3 separate regions of the Homo sapiens genome follow, and regions 1 and 2 are each linked to region 3. The links are contacts of gene promoters, found by promoter capture Hi-C in blood cells and fetal thymus (Javierre and others, 2016). All regions are on one chromosome and are shown on one strand. The core of a region is centred on a gene start or on the middle of the fragment in contact, and the rest is flanking DNA. Distances in the headings are between cores, read along the strand shown. Region 1 overlaps ARL15 (ARF like GTPase 15). Region 2 overlaps ARL15 (ARF like GTPase 15). Region 3 holds the start of NDUFS4 (NADH:ubiquinone oxidoreductase subunit S4).

Evidence for each region. The method cuts DNA at HindIII sites, captures the fragments that hold promoters and counts their contacts. A CHiCAGO score of 5 or more calls a contact.
Region 1: a contact is called between a fragment that was not itself captured here and the fragment with the promoter of NDUFS4 in region 3, in 1 of 17 cell types (naive B cells). The highest score is 5.9, in naive B cells.
Region 2: a fragment that was not itself captured here is called in contact with the fragment with the promoter of NDUFS4 in region 3 in 7 of 17 cell types (fetal thymus, monocytes, naive CD8 T cells and 4 more); the score reaches 9.3 in fetal thymus.

The regions. Positions count from the first base shown.
Region 1 is chr5:54,151,313-54,154,630 of GRCh38, forward strand. ARL15 (ARF like GTPase 15) reads right to left here. Exons shown (of 5, transcript NM_019087.3): 3 at 3,268-3,318. Among named protein-coding and RNA genes, the nearest start is that of ARL15, 160 kb to the right of the region's middle. The HindIII fragment of the contact is 906 bases long and covers 839-1,744 here.
Region 2 is chr5:54,304,037-54,307,298 of GRCh38, forward strand. The region is part of intron 1 of ARL15 (ARF like GTPase 15); the gene reads right to left. Among named protein-coding and RNA genes, the nearest start is that of ARL15, 4.9 kb to the right of the region's middle. RefSeq lists an enhancer at 636-1,299. The HindIII fragment of the contact is 5,398 bases long and covers 1-3,262 here.
Region 3 is chr5:53,559,388-53,563,005 of GRCh38, forward strand. NDUFS4 (NADH:ubiquinone oxidoreductase subunit S4) reads left to right here and starts at 1,252. Exons shown (of 5, transcript NM_002495.4): 1 at 1,252-1,373. The coding sequence starts at 1,276. RefSeq lists an enhancer at 1,154-1,653. The HindIII fragment of the contact is 3,063 bases long and covers 1-1,400 here.

The sequences.
Region 1 (3,318 bases), core at 42-2,541, 590 kb after region 3:
TGTCATAATTTACCTTGTACTTCTGCACTTAATTTTTTTCCCTTTCATTTCATTATTTTCAAAATTTTCACTAATTTCCTATTTCTCTTTTCATGAATGTCTCCATCACTGAATGAGGAGTTCCCTGAAGATGAGGGCTGTGCTTAGATCTTTCATTCTCTGCCCATAGGACCATGCTAGACCCATAATTAATTGTGGTAAAATGATCAAGTGAACAGTAAGAAAACACCACATGAAAAGAAATTGATGTGAATGAGAATTTTAAGAATTTTTCAGGAAAAAGATATAAAAACACTTTCACAAAACAGAAAATTGGTAAGAGGAAATAATAATTTTTATAAGTAATATATATTCAACACATATATATTCACACACAAACATATGTTTGTGTGTGCAAACATATAGTTTGTCATTAAGATCCCCAAAAGTGACTTTCACTGAGTGTAACTCCATTATTCATTGTTTCCTCACCCCATATCATTTCTTCTAAATAGATAATGAGCACAGGTTTATGCGCTTCCCTATTTTGAAGAAGTGAGAATTTTAACTTAAGACTGGGAAAGAGTGAAGAAGAGCCTTGGAACTATCTGAAATGGGTAGAGGAAGGACATTAGCAGGGAGAACAGGGGCCATGCTGTTCTCCTGAATTAACCCCAGGATAAGGAGAACTACCTGGGCATTCCTCACTAAGAATTCATCACTGTCCTGGCTCTTAATCTCTATATTTACCACCTATTTTCTTGAGGTCCTCCCCTGAATTCAGAATTTTTCTCTGATTGACAATGTGATTGAACTCTGATTAACCTGTCTTCTGAGCAACCCTCCACTGGTGAATAAAAGCTTCATATCTTCACACATTGATCATAAAACATATAACTCTCTCCTCCCAGAAATTCTCAGTCAAGCAACTCCCTCTCAGACAACTTGATTTCAGCCAGTCATAATTCCCCCTAAGTGCACATACACCTTATTTTGGGATGATCCCCTTCATATCTAGCATACACGTTAACTCCTAGGAAAGCTACACTTTATACAGGTTAGCCTAGCTTTTCATGTGTTCCTGGTTGAGACATAACCTAGTACCTAGCCTCAAAAAATATTTGAGGAAATGACTTAGTGAATGAGCTGTCAAGAAGTCAACTCCCTTAAGTGCTTGCCCCCGAGCATGTGACACAGGATACACAATTGGATTCTACTCAGAAAGTCCCCTCTTCCTTCAGACACTGTGTCAACTGGAAACAGAGCTATTAAAGTTGAGAAAGTAAAAGAATCTATGCATAGGCTAGAAATTTGCTCTTCAATACTAACACATGCCAAAAACTTATGTATCACTAGCCTGGAACGAATGTATCTGCTCTGATCCCTGAGGCTCTGCCTTTTACCTGCATCTCTTAACCTCATTACGAAATAGGTACCAACTAAAACATAACCACCAAATCCTATGGTATCCTCTCCATTGTAATTTCCATTTCAGCAACTGTCAGGGAACAGCTCTTTCGGCAAAATTAAACCGTGCTTGAGAACAGACCTATTCCCACCTTATGTACCTCTAGTCCCCTAACTTGATCTTTCATTGTACTGAATTTTGATGGCACAGAGCCAACCTTACGAATTCCTTGGTGTTCACTTTTTTTAAAACTGTCCACATACAGTTACTGTTTGTTTCATCCAAGTAAACATCATATGTAATAAATGTCTTATTAACCAACCAATAGTTTCTTATACCTGGAAGGTGTTCAATAAAAGCTTTGTGTCCAACCTAAAAATAAAATACTTAGTAACAGCCATATTTAAAACCCATATAACTCTCAAACCATGCATTTACAATGTGTTCTTTGATTTTTAAATATCCATAAGTAATATTATTGTCACCAAGGAATAATCAGCAGAAGCCACAAAGCAAAAAAGCATTTTTTTATAAACCATGCATCTGGAAATTTTAAATAGGAGAAAGATTATTTTGTTTCATTTGAATGTTCTGCCAGCTGCTTGTATTTCTTTTTTGAATTAAATTAAATTAAACTAATTTCTAGACGTTAATTTATCAATAGTTTCTGAGCAACCATTGTATTTAAGGTTTTAAGCATATGGCATGGTTAATATGCCATACATTTATTTTTCTTAAAAGTACAATTATAATTTAAAATACCCTAATAGAACACAGTCTTTTAAAAACTTTGCATAGAAAAATTATTATAAGAACATTCATGTTTTATAATTTTTGGAGTCAAAATGACAAAACCAAATGTCTTAAAGAAAAATCGGAATTTATTGATCATGGTTGTTTTATATATTAATGCTATAAAGCTAAAAGTGAATATGAAATTGACTGGCAGAAGCGAACCTGTCCTACACATAGCGAACTGAAAACAGACACCTGAAAAGATCAGCCAGTTTTTTATTAGATAAAAATAAGAAGGTACCAAACGCTATTAAAATGGCGTAAAGTTGGTGTTACAATCTCATCGAGCTAAAAATAGGTCACAGTTAGAATGACCTTAAGGGAAAATAAACAAAACAAAACAAAACAAGGTAAGGCCAATATCACAAAGTGATTAAAGAGATGGAAGATAACTCTCTCCTAAGTCATTAAACTCACCGATATCATACTGAACTCCAGAGCACTTAGTATTTTCATGCGCCATTAGAGAATTTAGTGGGTTCACTGAATTGACTGATTTCTTTGTTAATCTATTTACATGGGTTAAGACCCTGACTAACATAAAACACAACCAAAAAATGCCAGACAGAGAGTGTAATGAAAGACTGAGTGATGTATGGTTTGGGGTACAGCCTATCCGATAAATGTGCTTGGCCAGCAAAGAACCCATTGGCAAAGATTTATTATCGGAACAAATACATTCTAAAAAGATCTAATACAATAAAACCTGCAGTATAAACACAAACTACTCTAAAATACAAATCTTTTCCCCGAATAGTTGATCTTTCAATGATATTAAAATTCTCTTCATATGTTTTATTCAAGAATTTTTTGAACAAGTAAAACCAATGAGCTGTATAAATTGCCAATAATAGTGTAATTCTTTGATTCATTCAAAAAACCCCCAAAGTTTATGTTACTTAGAACTCTTCAACAATTTTTAAAACATACGAAGAGAAGGAAATATTTCTAGGAAATATATTATCAAGATAAAAATGAACCACCTACTAAAATAAGTTATCATTATGTTTGAATTACATATAATACATTATTACCAAATTCATAAAAGTTAAGGGCAGACATAGAAATGATTTGAAATGTTATACCTCCAAGTTCTTTTACATTCAAGATGGCATTCTGGAATGGCACTGCTTTAA
Region 2 (3,262 bases), core at 459-2,958, 750 kb after region 3:
CAGCCTGCCTGCTCATGGCCACTGCTTTCTTTAACATAGTAGTGGTCAAGGACCACTTTTCTGTACCTGTTTACTTAAGAAGCAATATACTAAAAATTTTGAGTGCATCCCAACTGCCTTAACACCAAGCTGCCTGAGCCTCTGCCTAGCACAAGGGAACTACTTGTAGGTGGAAGGCAATGAAGAGGGAGGGCCCTGGGGCCACAAGCGCAGTTCAACTACTTGCTAGCTGTGTGAACTTGAGGAAATTACACAACCTCCCTGAGCCTCAGTTTAATGCTATTACACATGCAAAGCACTTAGAACACTGGCACAGAGTAAGTGTTCAATAAATGTTAACTGATTTTGCCCTCCTGATTATAACTCATATACTTATCTCCTCTCACCCCCGACCTGAGCACTGCCCACATGCCAACAAGCATGTGGCTTTGGCATCTTTCAGAATGCAAGCCCCTGGAGGGCATGAATCAAGGTCCCTATGTGTCCTCTCCTAGGGCTCATACTGTTAGACTGGAGCCACAGAAGTTTGGGAACCAGACTTAACACCTTTGTAGAAAAGTTCCTACCTAATGGTACGGATTTGCTCAAAACATTTTTGCTATATGAACTCCATATATGGTAGATCTGTTTATTGTGCTCAGATAATTTTTATCTTATAAATTATTAAGAAAGGAATATTTAATATGACTGCCTAATCCACTCGACATTTAGACTAAAAAGTGACCTACATTATCACTTTAAAGTTAGTCACAATAAATACAACTTACAATGTTCATAGATATTCAGGGTTAAAAACAACGAAACAATGTACTTTTTTTTTTATCAATAAAGAAGTTCAGTTCACAGATAACTGAACATAATATGAAATCACAAATGTACCTTCACTCCTCTTTTCAAGTAGGATCCTTTACAATTTCATAGTGCCTGTGGGCTCTACCCTTTGTAGCACATCATGGGTTTCTATTGTTGGTTAGTTAGCTGGTTTTTATCCTGCAAATGGTGACAGATTTGTGATGATCAACCCAATTCTCTCACCACATCTTCCCCACTGAGACATACATTTTTATGATGGCAGATACAGCCTATAACCAAGAAACTAAATAGGTCAAGTCCACCAGTCTATACAAAGAAATCTTATTAAACTAACCTATCAAATCTAATCTTATTAAATCCCAAACACTGGCAGGGCACGGTGGCTCACTCCTGTAATCCCAGCACTTTGGGAGGTCGAGGCAGGTGGATCACCTGAGGTCAGGAGTTTGAGACCAGCCTGGCCAACATGGTGAAACCCCGTCTCTACTAAACATACAAAAATTAGCTGGGCATGGTGGTGGGCACCTGTAATCCCAGCTACTTAGGAGGCTGAGACAGGAGAATCACCCCATTGCACTCCAGCCTGCATGACAAGAGCAAAACTCTGTCACAAAAAAAAAATAAATAAATAAAAAATCCCCAACACGGTACAGTAGTTTCCCCTCATCCATGGGGGATATATTCCAAGTCCCAGTGGATACCTAAAACCACAGATAGTACTGAGCTATCATAGAACTAACTAACATAGCACAGAGCACACTATATTTTTTCCTATACACACACACCTATGATAAAGTTTAATGTGTAAATTAGGCATAGTAAGTGATTAATAATAACTAATAATAAAAGTGAACAATGATAACAATATACAGTAATAAAAGTTATATGAATGTGGTCTCTCTCTCTCTTAAAATATCTTATTGTACTTTACTCACTTATTTTGAGACCTCGGTGGACCATGGTTAACTGAAACCTTGAAAAGTAAAACCGTGGATGGGAGGGTGGAGGCTACTATAAACAAATGCAATGAATATTAATTGACAATTAGCATCCAAGACTAATCAACCATTTTTACTTGTCACATTTTCAAGTCTAAGTTTATATTTTAGTTCACAATAAAACACACAAAATGAGAGAAATGTACTAGAAAGCAAAGAAGCACATCAGAAGCTACCCCCTCCCCTATGTGCCTTACTTAACCTGTCCTGCCACAGGTTCCTCTAGAGCCACACGACTGCCAGTCCTGCAGTCAAGGAGGATATTACAGCTGAGGGTTCATCCCGCATGACTTTCAGGGCCATGCAGAAAGTAAGGGCTCCATAAATATTTGTTGAATAGATAAATTATTCAAATGGGTTTTATTTTCGTAGCTTTTAAAAGATTCTTAAAAGAGTCTTGTGACTTCCTGCTTGTTGATTACAACTCCCAGTATTTCCATAAATTGAGACTAGTTTAAAAGGTATTTCAATACCACTAAGCAGTAACAGTCATTCTACAGGAGGTATAAAAGTAACATCAGCAACATAATCACAATACGTTAACTTTTTTTTTTTTTTTTTGTCTTGAGACGGAGTCTCACTCTGTCGCCCAGGCTGGAGTGCAGTTGTGCGATCTCACTGCAACCTCTGCCTCCTGGGTTCAAGCGATTCTCCTGCCTCAGCCTCCCAAGTAGCTGAGATTACAGGCATGCGCCACGACACCCAGCTAATTTTTCTATTTTAAGTGGAGATGGGGTTTCTCCATGTCAGCCAGGCTGGTCTCAAACTCCTGACCTCAAGTGATCCGCCTGTCTTGCCCTCCCAAAGTCCTGGGATTACGGGCGTGAGCCACCTCGCCCAGCCACACAATACGTTAACATTTTATATTTGAAAAGCAACGTACTGTTTACAAATGGCTTTCCCTCCACTATCTCATTTAATCATCATAGGTATTACACAGAGTACAACCAATTCTACCACTGTTGTTTTGATGGCGCAGAGGGAAAAAAGGTTAATTCCAGATCAATCATCACATGAGTCAAGACAGAAAATTTTGAACTGAAAGGAATCTAGAAGTTGATCTTGTCCAACCTCCCAGGAAAACTCGAGAAATGTGTTTTTCTCTTTCATTTTAACCTGACTATTTTCTCCTACCTTATCCAAAAAGCTCTGCACATTGTGTTACTAGTTCTACCTATGAGAAGAAAGAGTAAGATGCTGGTACTGCCTGTTGGGACAGCAGCTAAATGTTTACCCAGAGACTTGGCAGATGTAAACATGGCCTTTAAACCCCATCATGGAAAGGGGAAAAGTTGTGTGCCCTTCTAGGAAGATTCACTCATCAACTGGAAAACAGAGATTTTTATGTTTAAATTGCCACCCTGGCTAAAAGGATTATATCTTGATCATCTTCAAGTTAAGAGTAAAGGATACATTCTGCATTCCCCTGAACAAAACACCTAATCCAAACA
Region 3 (3,618 bases), core at 2-2,501:
TGAGGGTGGAATAGTTCTGTATCTTGATCATGGTGGTGGTTACACAAAATATGTAGTAGAATGACATAGGACTACACAAATACTTTATATCAATGCCAGTTTCCTGGCTTTGATACTGTACTAGAGTTATACGAGATGTAATCACTGGGGGAAACAGGTACACAAGACATCTGTACTATCTTTGCAACTTCATGTGAATCTATAACTATTTCAAAATGAAAAGTTTGAAAGAAAATTTTCTCTGAGGCATCTCTCCCTTGCCTTCCTTCATCTTGTGCATTTCTTTCCCTGAGTATGACTTTTTCTCTTTCTTTCTCCCTTTCCCTTATGTACTGGGTTTTCCTTTAACGGTCCATAATGCCAAACTATGTCATTCCCCATCCTCCTATTGTTCCTATTTATTTAATGAAGGTTATGTTTTCATGTGCTTAATTTTAAAAGCAGGAAAGTACTAACTCTTTAAACAAATTTCTTAAAAAACAAAACCCAAAACTAACCTGCTTTTTATTTTATATAATTCAGTTAGTCATTATTCTTTAAGGTCGGAAGTCCACAATACAAACATGTTTCCAACACTTGTATTGGAAGATAATTTTTGTTTTATATGCATGGAGCATTAATATCATTCTTCATGTCTATGGATTATGAACACACACACATTCAGGATTTACTGGGGAAACAGTGACATCAAATATTATGTTCTATTGATTCTTCATATAAATCTACATGTCAAAAAATAATCCTTTGCCAGATCACGTATCCAGATTTTTCGTTTGGAAAATACGAACATTACTACTACAGAATATCAAACTGAATACAGCCCTGTCCTGAGGGCTTGCAAAGTGAATCTGGCAATACTTTGGAAAAGTACTACTGCAGGTTCTCAAGGACCCAAAGAGCTCTCCAGCTTTTCCAGTGGGTTCAGCCCCAAATATCCTAATTTCTTCAATAAATTACGAGTTGCAGGTGTTTAAATATGCAAGTATATTTTGGTCTTTTCGTTATCATTGTAAAACACCAGTCCTAACAAGCAGTAAAGATTACACTTTATGGTGGTAATATTTACAGTTAATGCACTTCTGCATTTCTTCCCGCACATTTTTCTTCTTACTTATTTAAACTAAGCGTTTCCCCTCTTTTTTTAAGCCCCAGTATTAAAAAGAAAATAAAATCCCAAAGAATTTCGCAACATTGCGATTGCACTGGCTTGAGAACGAAGGAAGTTAGTCCCTTGCGGTGATCCGTCCTTTCATCCTGGCGTTTGCCTGCAGCAAGATGGCGGCGGTGTCAATGTCAGTGGTACTGAGGCAGACGTTGTGGCGGAGAAGGGCAGTGGCTGTAGCTGCCCTTTCCGTTTCCAGGGTTCCGACCAGGTAATAGAATTTTCACACTTTTCTTCAAGCTTCTTGGGTCCCTCCATTTTTGCGGAGTCTCTGCTGGCTGAGTTCCGGAGGAGGCCTCGGGGAAGGCGTCCTCTGTTGACCCTTTTCTCGGGAGAAGTCGGGCGGACTAGGGACTGTCTGCTATCAATGGGCGTTGGCCAGGCGAGTGAGGGCGTGAGTGCGAGGCCGGGGAGGAGGACCTGTGGTTTTCTGGAAGCTTTCGTATTCGGCTTGTCGCTGAGGGAGAGGGTCCGTGGAGGTTTTGCCTCCGGAGCTGCAAGCTGAACCTTAGCCCTCAGAGAAGGGGAGGAGTCTCACTGATTTCTGTTTCCACTTTCTGCATCCCTTCCATTTGTCACCTGTTTGCCCACCACTCCAGTCCTTACAGAAGGGTTAAATCACTGTATCCCTTCCATGGTTTTAAGTGGTTTTAATTTGGTTTCTGCATAGGAAGATTGTTTATTCATCAGTCTGCTTGGGAGGAAAACTTGTTTGGAATTCAGTGTTAGTAAAAATATCACTGCTAGTAATATTGGAAGGTAATTTTTAAAAGGCTGGTGGTAATGCCTGGAGGTTTTCTAGGGATTTTGTTAAAGCCTCACAATAATTCAGGGATTGAATTGAGTTGTTGAGGGCTCTTTGCGTCCTTGAGAACCTAAAGTAGTACTTTTCCAAAGTATTGTCAGATTCAGTTGTCAGTTGATTGAGTTGTTACTGTTTTTCCTTGAAGCATTTTTGTGATGATTTTTTTTTTTTTGGCTGTATTAACCTTCCATTTTCTATTTTTCAGAATTTCCTGGAGTTTTTTAAATTATAGTACTAATGCTATACGTACATACACACACATATTAGAACAAAGATTGGAAAGACTGGATGGAGAGATTTGAAGGGGGTAGGAGGTGGATGCAAGTGGTTAAAAGTTGAAAGGAAGGTCTAGTAGAATGCTAATTGATTTAGTGTTAAATATAAATGGAATGCAGAGAATTAGGATGAGTTAATTCGGAAGAATTTTTAAGGATGAGTTTTATTAAGGTTTAAATATAGTGGGTGTTGGGTGGGAAAGAAGAGAGTGTCCCGTAGGGTCCGTGGCTTATGAAAAGGCTTGAAAGCATTAGTTAAACGATTACTAAATACATAGAATAGAGTCACTCAAAAGTAAGGGTGCTAAGATTGGGGAAAGGCAAATGATGTTTGTAATTAAGTGTTCCATATATGGAAAGTATTTTTCCTTTTTCTTTCTCTTTTTTTTTTTGAGATACATTCTCACTCTGACGCCCAGGCTGTAGTGCAATGGCGTGATCTTGGTTCACTGCAACCTCCGCCTCCCGGGTTCAAGCAGTTCTCCTGCCGCAGCCTCCTGACTAGCTGGGATTACAGGCGCGCACCACCACACCTGGCTAATTTTTGTATTTTTAGTAGAGGCGGGGTTTCACCATGTTGGTCAGGCTGGGTTAAGTATTTTTCTAAGGTAAAATACTTCACTGGTTAACTTAGAGTTAATATAGCGGTGACCAAGATTAGCCCTTCCTCCCGTACAGATTATAGGGATTAATTGTCATTCCCAGATAATAATGTACTCATGGTAGCCCCAGAACTGAAAACAAGTTTGAAGGGACCACTGGTTTATGGCTAATCAAAACATGGCTGTAATTTTAAGTCAAAGCCATTTTGTCAGCAATTATAGTAATTGAAGTTGAGATTAGATTTTTGAAACTCTGATGATAATTGTTACTACATATCCAAACTTAAGAGTTTTTGCCTGCAAATGTAAGAGATTTGAAAATAAATCATTTAATCTTGAAAAAAAATCTTAATGCCAGGGAAGACGTTTTTTAAATACAAATTAACACATTTATTTGTTTTCTGTGCCACATTTTTACCCTAAGAGCTTGTCATGTTCATCCTAATTTGAGGGAAATTTATAGACCCTCTCCCTTACATATTGTTTGTTCTTCATCCTTAAGCATTCTTTTTCCATTATGATTTGATAGTAATGAGGATCTGAAAAAGGTGAGTAGAAAGAACCAATTAATGGGAAAATCTACATCTAAAATTCATTTTATTGTAATGCTTAGAAAAACATTTGCAAATCATGTAACATTTCAGATCATTTGAATAGAATATGGGAAGTGGAATCAGTAAGGTAAGGAGTGGAGTAGGGAACTGAAGGAAAGGAAGGGCCGGGCGCGGTGGCTCACACCTGTAATCCCAGCACTTTGGGAGGCCGAGGCGGGCA